Regions from separate parts of the Homo sapiens genome. Here regions 2, 3 and 4 are each linked to region 1. Evidence: promoter capture Hi-C in 16 types of primary human blood cells and fetal thymus (Javierre and others, 2016). All regions are on one chromosome and are shown on one strand. Each heading gives the region's core, a stretch centred on a gene start or on the middle of the fragment in contact. The rest is flanking DNA. Distances are from core to core; before and after follow the strand shown. Region 1 holds the start of HAUS6 (HAUS augmin like complex subunit 6). Region 2 has its middle 9.2 kb from the start of MAP1LC3BP1. Region 3 overlaps ACER2 (alkaline ceramidase 2). Region 4 overlaps LOC105375988 (a long non-coding RNA gene).

What was found. The method cuts DNA at HindIII sites, captures the fragments that hold promoters and counts their contacts. A CHiCAGO score of 5 or more calls a contact.
Region 2: a fragment that was not itself captured here is called in contact with the fragment with the promoter of HAUS6 in region 1 in 15 of 17 cell types (naive B cells, total B cells, total CD8 T cells and 12 more); the score reaches 30.7 in naive B cells.
Region 3: a fragment that was not itself captured here is called in contact with the fragment with the promoter of HAUS6 in region 1 in 11 of 17 cell types (naive CD8 T cells, naive B cells, activated CD4 T cells and 8 more); the score reaches 12.6 in naive CD8 T cells.
Region 4: a fragment that was not itself captured here is called in contact with the fragment with the promoter of HAUS6 in region 1 in 1 of 17 cell types (total B cells); the score reaches 5.4 in total B cells.

The regions. Positions count from the first base shown.
Region 1 is chr9:19,101,205-19,104,335 of GRCh38, reverse strand. It overlaps HAUS6 (HAUS augmin like complex subunit 6), which reads left to right and starts at 1,432. Exons shown (of 17, transcript NM_017645.5): 1 at 1,432-1,812. The coding sequence starts at 1,685. RefSeq lists an enhancer at 1,190-1,753. The HindIII fragment of the contact is 8,228 bases long and covers 1-3,131 here.
Region 2 is chr9:19,452,600-19,455,769 of GRCh38, reverse strand. No RefSeq gene overlaps it. Among named protein-coding and RNA genes, the nearest start is that of MAP1LC3BP1, 9.2 kb to the left of the region's middle. The HindIII fragment of the contact is 255 bases long and covers 1,185-1,439 here.
Region 3 is chr9:19,432,798-19,436,234 of GRCh38, reverse strand. It overlaps ACER2 (alkaline ceramidase 2), which reads right to left. Exons shown (of 6, transcript NM_001010887.3): 4 at 1,151-1,288. Among named protein-coding and RNA genes, the nearest start is that of ACER2, 26 kb to the right of the region's middle. The HindIII fragment of the contact is 6,564 bases long and covers 1-3,437 here.
Region 4 is chr9:19,477,474-19,480,821 of GRCh38, reverse strand. All of the region lies in intron 1 of LOC105375988 (a long non-coding RNA gene), which reads right to left. Among named protein-coding and RNA genes, the nearest start is that of MAP1LC3BP1, 16 kb to the right of the region's middle. The HindIII fragment of the contact is 6,627 bases long and covers 1-3,348 here.

The sequences.
Region 1 (3,131 bases), core at 183-2,682:
AGCTGGGATTACAGGCATGCGCTACCACGCCCGGCTAATTTTGTATTTTTAGTAGAGACGGGGTTTCTACATGTTGGTCAGGCTGGTCTCGAACTCCCCACCTCAGGTGATCCGCCCACCTTGGCCTCCCAAAGTGCTGGGATTATAGGCGTGAGCCACTGTGCCCCGCCTCTCTCTCTTTTATTAAGGTGATTTTAGTGAGGCAGGAGACAATCATTGCCAGAGGTAGCAATGAGACTTAAAAGCAGGTTACCCAATCCACTTCCAGGCCCTGTTGTCAGTGGGGTTTGTGGTAGGCAACAGCTGTCAATTAAGACGACGGGCCGGGTGCGGTGGCTCACGCCTATAATCCCAGCACTTCGGGAGGCCGAGGAGGGCGGATCACGAGGTCAGGAGATCGAGACCATCCTGGCTAACAGGGTGAAACCCCGTCTCTACTAAAAATACAAAAAATTAGCCCGGCGTGGTGGTGGGAGCCTGTAGTCCCAGCTACTCGGGAGGCTGAGGCAGGAGAATGGCGTGAACCTGGGAGGCGGAGCTTGCAGTGAGCCGAGATTGCGCCACTGCACTCCAGCCTGGGAGACAGAGCTAGACTCCGTCTCAAAAAAAAAAAAAAAAAAAAAAAAAAAATTAAGAGGACTGCAGGCGGCCAGGCGCAGTGGCTCACGCCTGTAATCCCAGCACTTTGGGAGGCCAAGACCGGCAGATAACCTGAGGTCAGGAGTTCGAGACCAGCCAGCCAACATGGTGAAACCCCGTCTCCATTAAAAATACAAAAAAATTAGCCGGGCGTGGTGGCGGACACCTGTTAATCCCAGCTACTCGGGAGGCTGAGGCAGGAGAATCGCTTGAACCCGGGAGGCGGAGGTTGCAGTGAGCCGAAATCGCGTCACTGCACCCCAACTTGAGCAACAAGAGCGAAACCCCGTCTCAAAAAAAAAAAAAAAAAAAAAAAAGACTGCAGGACTGCAGGGGAGTATAGAGCCAGATTTCATTTAAAGCAGGAAAAGGAACATCCGGCATTTGAGGACATAGATTTCGCTAACGACAGAAATGAGGCTCAGAGATTACGTGACTTGATTAGAGTCACAGTGAGCATAGCGGAGGATGGAACCAATGCTTTAACTCTACACCGAGGCATAGTGCTCCATTTATGGCTTTTTTGTGACGTAACAACTAGGATACACAAGCAAATGGACCCCACTAACCAAGAATCAGAAACCCGAAGGCCCGAGGATCTGGGCACGACAGCGGTTAAGCAAGCGCAGAGCAAGTCGCTGGCCGCGCAATGCCCGGTGGGTCTTGCAGTTTCTTGGCTGGGCATGGCCGGAAGGGAGGAGAGAAGGACGCATTGCATGGCGGGAGATATAGTCTTTGCCGGAAGTCCCTCCTCCCTCGGACGCCTGGCGGCGCCGGCGCACACTGCTCTTCCTTAAGGGCGGGAGTCTCGGTTTGTGGTGGCTTCGCTGAGGCAGTGGTGGCCGCACTATACCGTTAGAAACTCAATTTCCCGGAGGTTGTGAGGCCCTTTGAGGCGAAATCGCTCTGGGCGTGAAAGGAGCAGGCGTTGGCAATGGAAGGACCACCGCGACCTCAGGCTGACCGTAGGGAGGGATCTTGAGGGCCCTCCGAGTCCCCTGGGCTTGCGCTTTCTTTCTTTGCAGCCACCGTGCCTACCGCGAGGATGAGCTCGGCCTCGGTCACCGCTTTCGAGAAGGAGCATCTCTGGATGTATCTGCAGGCGCTCGGCTTCGAGCCAGGCCCGGCAACCATTGCCTGCGGAAAGATCGTGTCGCACACGCACCTCGGAGTGTAAGGAGGCCGGGGCCGGCGGGGCGAGGGAGCCTGAACCGGGGGACGCCGGGGGACTCCCCCTTTTGTAGACCCCGGAGGTTGATTAATCAGAATTGGTTGAGCAGTTACTCTGTGCCAGGCATTGGCTCCAAAGTTCCTACTCCCAGTTGCTGCCAGCCTAGGGGCAGAGACAGACAGTAAATAATGCAAGAGTGCCGGAAGCGCTCTGTAGGGGAGTGCAAAAGTCTGCAGATGGGGAGAGTGCAAGACTGGAGGAGCAGCTTAACTCTGCCTATGTGGTGGAGGGGTGGTCTGTGAAGTAGTGGGAGGGATGGCGGGTGGTAGTGGAAGAGCATGGGAACCATATGTACAAAACACCTTTTGGACTCAAGGGAGCCTTTGAAGGTGGTTGTTTAATTTTATAATTTTTAATTTTTTAATTAGTAAGGCATGTTGGAGTTAGCATAAAACAACGGAGAAGGGTATTAAAAACAAATACCCTTTTAAGAAAAGTATGGAAAGTAAAAGCCCCTTCCCTACTTTTTCCACTTCTGTTTTATCAACTTTAGCCAGTATCTCTATTTAATCATTCCCACTGTAGGCCAAGAGGAATTCTTTTCTTTCATATGGAGTCTCCCTCTGTTGCCAGGCTGGAGTGCAGTGGCACGATCTCGGCTCACTGCACCCTCCAACTCCCTGGTTCAAGCGATTCTCCTGCCTCAGCCTCCCGAGTAGCTGGGATTACAGGCACTTGCCACCACGCCCAACCAATTTTTGTATCTTTAGTAGAGACGGGGTTTCACCATGTTGGCCAGGATGGTCTCGATCTCCTGAGCTCATGATCCACCTGCCTCGGCCTCCCAAAGTGCTGGGATTACAGGCGTGAGCCACCGTGCCCGGCCTCTATTTTTTTAAAGTATTATTATTTTAGAGACAGTAGCTAACCATGTTGCCCAGGCTGGTCTCAAAATTCCTGGGCTCAAGCAATCCTCCTGCTTCGGTCTTCCAAAGTGCTGGGATTATAGATATGAGCCATTGTTTTTTGTTTTGAGACAGGGTCTCCCACTCTGTCGCCCAGTCTGGAGTGCAGTTGTGCGATCACAGCTCACTGCAGCCTCCAACTCCTGGGCTCAGGCGATCCTCCCACTTCACCCTCCTGAGTAGCTGGGACTACAGGTGCGTGGCACCATGCCTAGGGTCGGCATGTTGCCCAGGCTGGTCTTGAGCTCCTGGCCTCCAGCAATCCCCCCGCCTTGGCCACTCCAAGTGCTGGGATTACAGATGTGAGCCACCGAGCCTGGCCTGTTTTATTTATGTTCATAGTTGTACATATTTTG
Region 2 (3,170 bases), core at 63-2,562, 350 kb before region 1:
TGAGTCCTTTCAGTTTAAAAAACTGCCACAGAAAATTAAAAGAAGTAGGTAAAAATTTTCCTGCTAAATTTATGATTTTAAAATGTCACGATCTTCCTTCTAGTGATTTGATGAAATCCAGCATAAATGAACTGTATTCTATATTTGAGATTTTTGGGTTTTTTTTTTTTTTTTGAGACAGAGTCTCGCTCTGTCACCCAGGCTGGAGGGCATTGGTGCAACCTTGACTCACTGCAACCATCGCCTCCCAGGTGAAAGTGATTCTCCTGCCTCAGCCTCCTGACTAGCTGGGACTGCAGGTGCGAGTTACCATGCCCAGCTGATTTTTGTATTTTTTTTAGTAGAGACGGGGTTTCGCCATGTTGGCCAGGTTGGTCTCGAACTCCTGACCTCAGGTGATCCACCCACCTTCCCCTCCCAAAGTGCTGGGATTACAGGCACGAGCCACCGCACCAGGCCTATATTTGAGATTTATATCTATATGACATGACTATAGAAGTTTTAGTAAAAATAAACTGTTCTTAGGTATTTTATGCTGGAAATATTTTCATGTGTTAATTTCACAGCTCTGAGAAGAAACCAACAAGGAACAACAATTACTTTACGCATTTTTAATAACAATGGTACCCAATTCATTAACAAATGAATTTAGGCAATGTGCTTTGCTCTACAATCCATCAGATACATTTTCACTGCAGATAGTTCAGAAATCATTTTGGAAATAGACACAAACATGTACATATTCATTTGCTGAAAATGCCACTTACAGCTTTAATATCAAATATAGTTATCATAGTTCACAGAAAAAGTATAAAGTGCAAAAGCTCCACTTCAAAAGGCCTTAAGTCACTCCCAAAGCAATGAGGATTAAATTTTACCACAGCCAGTGGGCATGCCACCCTTATGTAGGACACCTACATAAGGTATAAAACAAGGTATATATCTGAAAACACTATATTGCTCTGATTACATATTGTGGTTATAAAATAGTTTTAAATCTGGTTTAACATACAGAGAAAGATACAATTCAAACAATTAGTCCTATAAAGTAGGGGTTATTTATTTTTTTAAGTTTGCAGGGGAATTATGTCTATAAAATCCATTGAGAATCCCAATCTGGCCCAAGACTTCTCTTTGGCCAGCTGGAATAATAGCACCTAGGCAAAGCCTTGGCTATGAAAGCTTTCAGATTAATTTCAGTGTAAAAGGAGCTAGGAGAGGGGCCCTGACTGGGTGAGCTTCAGCATCCACCTGGTCCCTCAGAGATGGTTCCATGTCTGCCCCAAGGGATAAAGAGCCAGGAAGGCTCAAATCCCAGTCCTGAGGGCTCATGGAAGCATGATGAACTGGCGAGAGAAGTTTTACACACCTGACAGATCCAGTAAGTGGAATAGGTGGTCGTATTTTTACAAAGCCTTGTGTTTGATGACCATCAAGCTTTGTCCCTCAACAGAACATCTTTGATCTATAATTAATGTTTTAGGCACTCTTCACTGGACAGGCATAGAGTTCCCCAAAAATGCAGCCCATCCCCAAATGGATTCAGAGATCTCATCTCCACACACCTTAAATGTGTTCATGGAAGGACTTGATTTATAATGATGTAATCATAAAGGGAAGAAAATATTACTTTTTCTAATAATCAACAACTAAACACTGTAAAACATGAATCGCTGACTGAAATGATCACTCGGAAACATGAATGGTTTTTTATAGCCTAACTCCAGTTTCTGCTGGGTATTGATCTTGGGCAAATTCTGACCAGAACAAAATCTGATTAGCCATGCCAAGTAACCACAACCATGACCTAACTCCTAAGTGTCAGCCCTACTGAAGGGAGGGAGATTCTTGACTGCCCATCAATTAATGAAATAAACTATTCATTTTTTACAATCTGAACATATCAAAATCTGTAAAGTCACATATTTAACAGCTATTTATGATGACTCACCAAGCCAAGTGCAGAGGCACATCAAAAAGTACAATTACATTCATTACTTTTTGGAGCCCATTCATGTTAGGCTTGATTAAAAAGGTAGACTCAGTAGTCAGTCTCAGAATCCAGTGATCAGCATTCAAGCATATAGCTAACTCTAGTGTATTCCAAACCTACACTTCATGAAAAAATATACAACTGGCATTTACATGCCATTCAAGCTACAGGATAAATGTCAACTCTGAAAGACATCATTTATTTACAACTATATTGGGGGAAAAAAGAGGAGACCAAACCAAAATATTAACAAGGATTATACCTGGGCAATAGAAATATGGGTTACTTTTTTTTTTCTTTGACTTCTCTGTAGTTTCCCAATTTTCTTTAAAGAGTTTGTAGTGCTTTTACATATATGAGCGATGCCATAAACCCAACTTAAAATAAGATGGGTATATTTCTACTCTCTTGGTTTACATCCCATGCTGGCAAGCTAGAGTGATTTCTGTTCAAAAGTGAAGTTATGTTTTGTCCTCCTCAAATATACTCCATTCCACATTTCTTTCTCAGCTCATCTCTTTAAAACCAGTTTCTAGAAGCACATTCTGCTTCTCACATTAAAAAAAAAAAAAAAAAAAAAAAAAAAAAAGCCGGGCTTAAAATATATACCAAACCCCCTACCTTGGAGCATTTATACCATAAAGTAGATGAGACCAGAATCCATGCCTGATAAGGTCAATCTAAAATAAGAATGAGCTGATATTTGCCTTTAAAAAATTCTAGACTTGAAACCCAAAGGACTTAACAGCAGTTCTGTTCCATCAACCTCCTAGGTCTCAAAGAGATACATTAGAAATTCTACGAATATTTAATTCAAAGATCATTTTAAAAATATTTTTTAGGCCAGGCGTGACGGCTCATGCCTATTCCCAGCACTTTGGGAGGCCGAGGCGGGCGAATCTCTTGAGCCCAGAAGTTTGAGACCAGCCTGGGCAAAATGGTGAAACCCCATCTCTATGAAAAAATACAAAAATTAGCTGGGAGTGGAGGCACGCACCAGTACTCCCAGCTCCTGGGGAGGCTGAGGTGAGAGGATCACTTGAGCCTGGGAGACAGAGGCTACAGTGAGTCATGACTGCACCACTGCACTCCAGCCTGGGTAATAGAGCAAGACCCTGACTCAAAAACAAAACACTCTCTCTATATATATATAAAACTATAATAAACCAACATATAC
Region 3 (3,437 bases), core at 675-3,174, 330 kb before region 1:
ATTCAAGAAGGAAGGGCAGGCTGGCTGCAGTGGCTCACACCTGCAATCCCAATACTTTGGGACGCTGAGGCAAGAGGACTGCTTGAGGCCAGGAGTTTGAGAACCCCTGAGCACAGTGGGACTTTGTCTCTATTAAGAAAAAAAAAAAAAAGAAGGGCTTTCTTCTTTCTTCTTTTTCTGTTTTTTGAGATAGAGTCTCGCTCTGTCACCCAGGCTGGAATGCAGTGGCACAATCGCGGCTCACTGCAAGCTCCGCCTCCCGGGTTCACACCATTCTCCTGCCTCAGCCTCCCAAGTAGCTGGGACTACAGGCGCCCGCCACCATGCCCAGCTAATTTTTTGTATTTTTAGTAGAGACGGGGTTTCACTGTGTTAGCCAGGATGGTCTCCATCTCCTGACCTCGTGATCCGCCCTCCTCGGCCTCCCAAAGTACTGGGATTACAGGCATGAGCCACTGCGCCCGGCTTTTTTTTTCCTTTTTTTGAGACAAGTCTCACTCTGTCACCCAGGCTGGAGTACAGCAGTGTGATCTCAGCTCACTGCAACTTCTGCCTCCTAGGTTCAGGCGATTCTCCTGCCTCAGCCTCCTGAGTAGCTGGGATTACAGGTGCCCACCACCATGCCCAGCTGATTTTTGCATTTGAGTACACAAGTTCCCAAAAGAAAATGCTAATGCAAAGAGCAAAACCTTTACCTAATAGATTGTAAATGAGACATTAAGCCTCAGAGAAAGTATCATAGTCAACTGCAGTCCACCTGAAGTGCATATTTCCTTATAGATACAAACTCACTTTCCCTGCCCCCTTCCTCTTTTTCCTTCTGTGTGTGAATGCGATAACCTTTCTAGGACTTTTCTTTTCTACAGAATTAAGTCTAGACAGCTTGATCTAGGTACTGAGATGGTCCTGGTAAGCTAGCTTGTGATCAGTGGGATGCACTGCATCTGCTCAACAGCTGCTCCCCTCCTACTGAAAATGAGATTACCAGTATTTTGAACCAAACCATCAAATTGCTTCCATCCAACAGTCAGCAACTAACTCTTCACAAGGAATAAAACTCCTCTTCTGCTACAGGACAGCAAAGAAGCCCCGAACTGGTGTGTTCCCAGCACGGGGACAGCTAAGGGTAGGCAGGAATGATGGCACCTACCTCTTTAGCTCTGCGATGAGCAGTGCAGTGCAAGGAACTCCCAGGGTCATCAGAGAGATGTTGTTGATGGCAGGCTTGACAAATGCCAGGCACGTCGTAACCGCAGACAGGACACTGACCACCACCTTGAACCTACCCCTGAATCCATGAAAGCAAAACCAAATCCATTAGAAAAGGAGTTCTTGTTTGTTTGTTTGTTTAATGTTAGCAAGGTACAGGCATTGCCAGAAATACAAGCTGAAAAGAAATTCTGCGCTAAGTACCAAGGTTCAAAAAGCCACTCACGGCGACAGAGCGAGACTTCGTCTTAAAAAAAAAAAGAGAGGGTCTCCCTCTCATGCCGAGCCGAAGCTGGACTATACTGCTGCCATCTCGGCTCACTGCAACCTCCCTGCCTGATTCTCCTGCCTCAGCCTGCGGAGTGCCTGCAATTGCAGGCGCGCACCGCCACACCTGACTGGTTTTCGTATTTTTTTGGTGGAGACGGGGTTTCGCTGTGTTGGCCAGGCTGGTCTCCAGCTCCTAACCGCGAGTGATCCGCCAGCCTCGGCCTCCTGAGGTGCCGGGATTGCAGACGGAGTCTGGTTCACTCAGTGCTCAATGGCGCCCAGGCTGGAGTGCAGTGGCGTGATCTCGGCTCGCTACAACCTCCACCTCCCAGCTGCCTGCCTTGGCCTCCCAAAGTGCCGAGATTGCAGCCTCTGCCCGGCCGCCACCCCGTCTGGGAAGTGAGGAGCGTCTCTGCCTGGCCGGCCATCGTCTGGGATGTGAGGAGCCCCTCTGCCTGGCTGCCCAGTCTGGAAAGTGAGGAGCATCTCTGCCCGGCTGCCATTCCATCTGGGAAGTGAGGAGCGCCTCTTCCCGGCCGCCATCACATCTAGGAAGTGAGGAGCGTCTCTGCCCGGCCGCCCATCATCTGGGATGTGGGGAGCGCCTCTGCCCCGCCGCCCTGTCTGGGATGTGAGGAGCGCCTCTGCCCGGCCGCCACCCCGTCTGGGAGGTGAGGAGCGTCTCTGCCCGGCCGCCCCGTCTGAGAAGTGAGGAGACCCTCCGCCCGGCAGCCGCCCCGTCTGAGAAGTGAGGAGCGTCTCCGCCCGGCAGCCACCCCGTCCGGGAGGGAGGTGGGGGGGTCAGCCCCCTGCCCGGCCAGCCGCCCCGTCCTGGAGGAGGTCAGCCCCCTACCCGGCCAGCCGCCCCGTCCGGGAGGTGAGGGGCACCTCTGCCCGACCGCCCCTACTGGGAAGTGAGGAGCCCCTCTGCCCGGCCAGCCGCCCCGTCCGGGAAGGAGGTGGGGGGGTCAGCCCCCCGCCCGGCCAGCCGCCCCATCCGGGAGGTGAGGGGTGCCTCTGCCCGGCCGCCCCTACTGGGAAGTGAGGAGCCCCTCTGCCCGGCCACCACCCCATCTGGGAGGTGTGCCCAACAGCTCATTGAGAACGGGCCAGGATGACAATGGTGGCTTTGTGGAATAGAAAGGGAGGAAAGGTGGGGAAAAGATTGAGAAATCGGATGGTTGCCGTGTCTGTGTAGAAAGAGGTAGACATGGGAGACTTTTCATTTTGTTCTGTACTAAGAAAAATTCTTCTGCCTTGGGATCCTGTTGATCTGTGACCTTACCCCCAACCCTGTGCTCTCTGAAACATGTGCTGTGTCCACTCAGAGTTAAATGGATTAAGGGCGGTGCAAGATGTGCTTTGTTAAACAGATGCTTGAAGGCAGCATGCTCATTAAGAGTCATCACCACTCCCTAATCTCAAGTACCCAGGGACCCAAACGCTGCGGAAGGCCGCAGGGTCCTCTGCCTAGGAAAACCAGAGACCTTTGTTCACTTGTTTATCTGCTGACCTTCCCTCCACTATTGTCCTATGACCCTGCCAAATCCCCCTCTGTGAGAAACACCCAAGAATGATCAATAAAAAAAAAAAAAAAAAAAAAAAAGCCACTCACACTCACTGGCCTAGGAATTCCACTTCGAGAAACTTAGCCTTAGGAAATAATCAGATATTTTCAAAATTATTTGGCCATGAGAATGGTAAAATTACAGTCAACCTACTTCACTGAAGGTGAGATATGGATAGCTGTTTTCTTCGTGCGATTTTTCCGTATGTTTTCAGATGTTCGATTTCTCTGTATTTTTTCAGACGTTCTACAGCAGGGTTTAACAATTTTTTTCTATGAAGGGTTTTTGGGTTTGGGCTGGGTATGGTGGCTCACACCTGTAATCCTAGCACTTTGGGAGGCCAAAGTAGGAGGATGGCCTGAGCCCAGGAGTTTGAGTTTACAGTAAGCT
Region 4 (3,348 bases), core at 10-2,509, 380 kb before region 1:
GAACCATGATCAAACCACTGCACTCTAGCCTGAGTGACAGAGCAAGATCTTGTCTCAAAAAAATAATAATAAAACAAAATAAAGATTGTGGCTGACTCTGCCCCTCAGTGAGCCATGAGAGTCACCTGAGATGCAGCTATCCTGGGTGGTTTCAAAGAGAAGGAATCCAGAGAAGGGCAACCTAAGTGCTGAAGACACAGGCCCTGGAGCAAATAGCAGACTTCTGGTCACTGCTCATTACTGGCACCGGCTCAGTGGTGCCTGACTGGGGAACAGCCTCAGAGGAAGCTGCCCCAGCCTCGCCAGAGTGGGAGAGGACAAGGAACGCTCTCCTGGACCAAAAGCAGAGAAATTATCTCAACCCACACACCCGAAGAAAACAACATGGACATCATCCCTGAAAACATCTCCCCACGCAGGCAGGACGTCCCATCTTTTTGCCTTTTTCTTTTTAATGCCTCCTTCGGGCAGAGAGAATGGTCTGGTTAGGTCCAAGTTTTGACATTAGAGTGTTGACAGGATAAGTAGTCCATAAACTGAATACCCTGCAATCTGAGCTGGGCCACCAAAAATCCCATTCTTGGGGCCCCAAATATCTGTCCTTTTCTTAAAAAACACTTTCTAATGTCTATTTGTAGGTGGAAGGATGATGATGACCTGTAGAATGGTAGGTCATGGTCAGTTCTCCATCCACCAGGTGGGACAAGGAGACAATGTAGAACAGTGGCTCCCAAACTTGGCATGCATCCAAATCACTGCAGGGATGTTGAAGCAGATTGCAGGGTCTTCTTTTCAGAGTTCCCAATTCAGTAGGCTGTTGGTGGGGCCAAGTAATTTTCATTTTAATGAGTCTACAGATGATGTGGATGCTGCTGAGAACCACTGGAGCAGAAGATAATGTTAGTTGGTTTTATTTCTTAAAGCATAAAATATTAGCCATCTGCAGATAAAGAAGACTGAAGGGACTGTGTAACAAGCATTTTCATTCTGTCTTTTGATATGTCCATCCCTTAAATAGGTGTAGTCCTTTGGATTTTCATCCCTTCAGACTGATTCTGAAAGCCAATTTAACCTGATTTTACCTTGATAAAAACAAAAAATAGTGGGCCCACAAATCTGTAAGAAAAAGACAACTGGCCCAATAGAAAAATGAGCAAACAATGCAGGCAGGCCTTTCACAGAAGAGGAAACAGAAATTGCCAATCGACCTCTGAAAAGAGGTTCAATCTCACTGGTAATCAGTAAGATGTAAATTAAACCCACAATGAAATACCATTTCATAGCAACCACAATGGCTAAAGTTTCAAAGTCAGACACTGCTTCATGAGGGTGTGGAAAACAGCTATTTTCATGCATTGCTAGTGGATGGAAATAGGCACAACTTCTTTAGAAAACAATTTGGCACTTCTGATGAGGTTATGTAAGTCCTCTAGCAATTTAACACTTAGGAAAATAACCTAGAGAAACTCTTGGACCTTTGCTCCAGGAGACAGATAAGACTGTTCAGAGCTGTGCAGCTCACAGCAACAAAAGCTGCAATGTTTATTGACAGAAGATGGAGAAACGGTGATGTATTCATCAAATGGATGGCAGTCAGCAGAAAAACTATATGAACTGCGGCTATAGATATCAATAGGATGAAGCTCAAAAACAATGCTGGCTGGAAGCAACTCACAAAAGGAACATATCATGTGATTCCATTTATGTAGTAAAAACCTCAGAGTACATTATTTAGAAGTCCATACAGGATACCCTTGGAGGAGGGAGGAGGTAGATTTGGAGAGAAGCACATAGGGGTACGGTGATCAGCTGTCCAGGCTGAGACTAAATGGTTAACTAGGACCTGCGACGTTCAGTGCTAAAACCAGGACAGTTCTGGACAAACCAGAAGGAGGCAGTCACCCCTTGGACAGGTTCAAAGATATTGGTAATGTTTTAGTTCATTACAGCTGAGATATGAGAACACAGTGGTTTTTTATTTTTGTTTAGTCTTTTAAAATGTATGTATATGTCACATAAACTTTTGTATGTGTGATATATTTTACAATTTGTAAAAATGTGCAAAATGTTGAAAAAATACACAAAGAAAGATATACCATGACAGAGGATAAAACTGTAAATCAGTACAACTTTTCTGGAGGGCAATTTGGCAACAATATATTTCAAAAGCCGTAACAATACACATAATCTTTAATCCAGAAAGTTAACTTCCACGATTCAACACACTGGAAAAAAATCAGATATGTGAGTACAAATGTGTACATAGAGGTGTTCATTATTACAGTAATTATAATATCAAAAAATTAGAAATGTTAAATGTTCAGCAAAAGGAAATTTTAAAATTAAGGTACATTCATATGGTTTATAATTCTGCACCCATTTATTTATTTATTTATTTATTTATTTTATCCTTTTTTTCTATACTTTAGGAATACCAGGGTACTAATGTTTTTTTGTTACATGATGAATTGTGTAGAATTCATCTACATGTTGGGTACAACGTACACTCCTCAAGTGACTGGTGCACTGAAACCTGAGACTTCAGCACTCCTCACCCGAGTAGTGTACGTTGTACCCAGTATGTACTTTTTAACCCACAGCCCTCTCCCGGTTCCTTCCCCTGAGTCTCCAGTGTCCAATATAACACTCTGTTTGCCCTTGTGTCCACATAGCTTAGCTCCCCCTTGTAAGTGAGAACATATGGTATTTGGTTTTTCCATTCCTGAGTTATTTCACTTAGAGTAATGGCTTCCAGCTCCATTCATGTTGCTGCAAAAGACATTATATTGTTCTTTTAATGGCTGAGTAGTATTCCATGGTGTATATATACCACATTTTCTTTACCCACTCCTCAGTTGATGGGCACTTAGGTTGGTTTGATATCTTTGTAATTGTGAATTGTCTGCACCTATATAAATTACGTTAATTTCTAAAATTAAAAGCATACAAAAAAAGGACTGTGGTTATTGTCATAAAACATCTTCAGAGGCCGGGCACGGTGGCTGACGCTTGTAATCCCAGCACTGTGGGAGGCCGAGGCGGGCGGATCACCTGAGGTCAGGAGTTTGAGACCAGCCTGACCATCATGGAGAAACCCCATCTCTACTAAAAATACAAAATTAGCCTGGCGTGGTGGCACATGCCTGTAATCCCAGCTACTCAGGAGGCTGAGGCAGGAGAATCGCTTGCACCCAGGAGGCAGAGCTTATGGTGAGCCAAGATCCTGCCATTGCACTCCAGCCTGGGCAACAAGAGTGAGACTCCATCTCAAAAAAAAAAAAAAAAAAATCATCAGAGACAAGAAGAAGACTTCTCTTTAGTTTAGGAAAATACTTCGATGGGCCATTT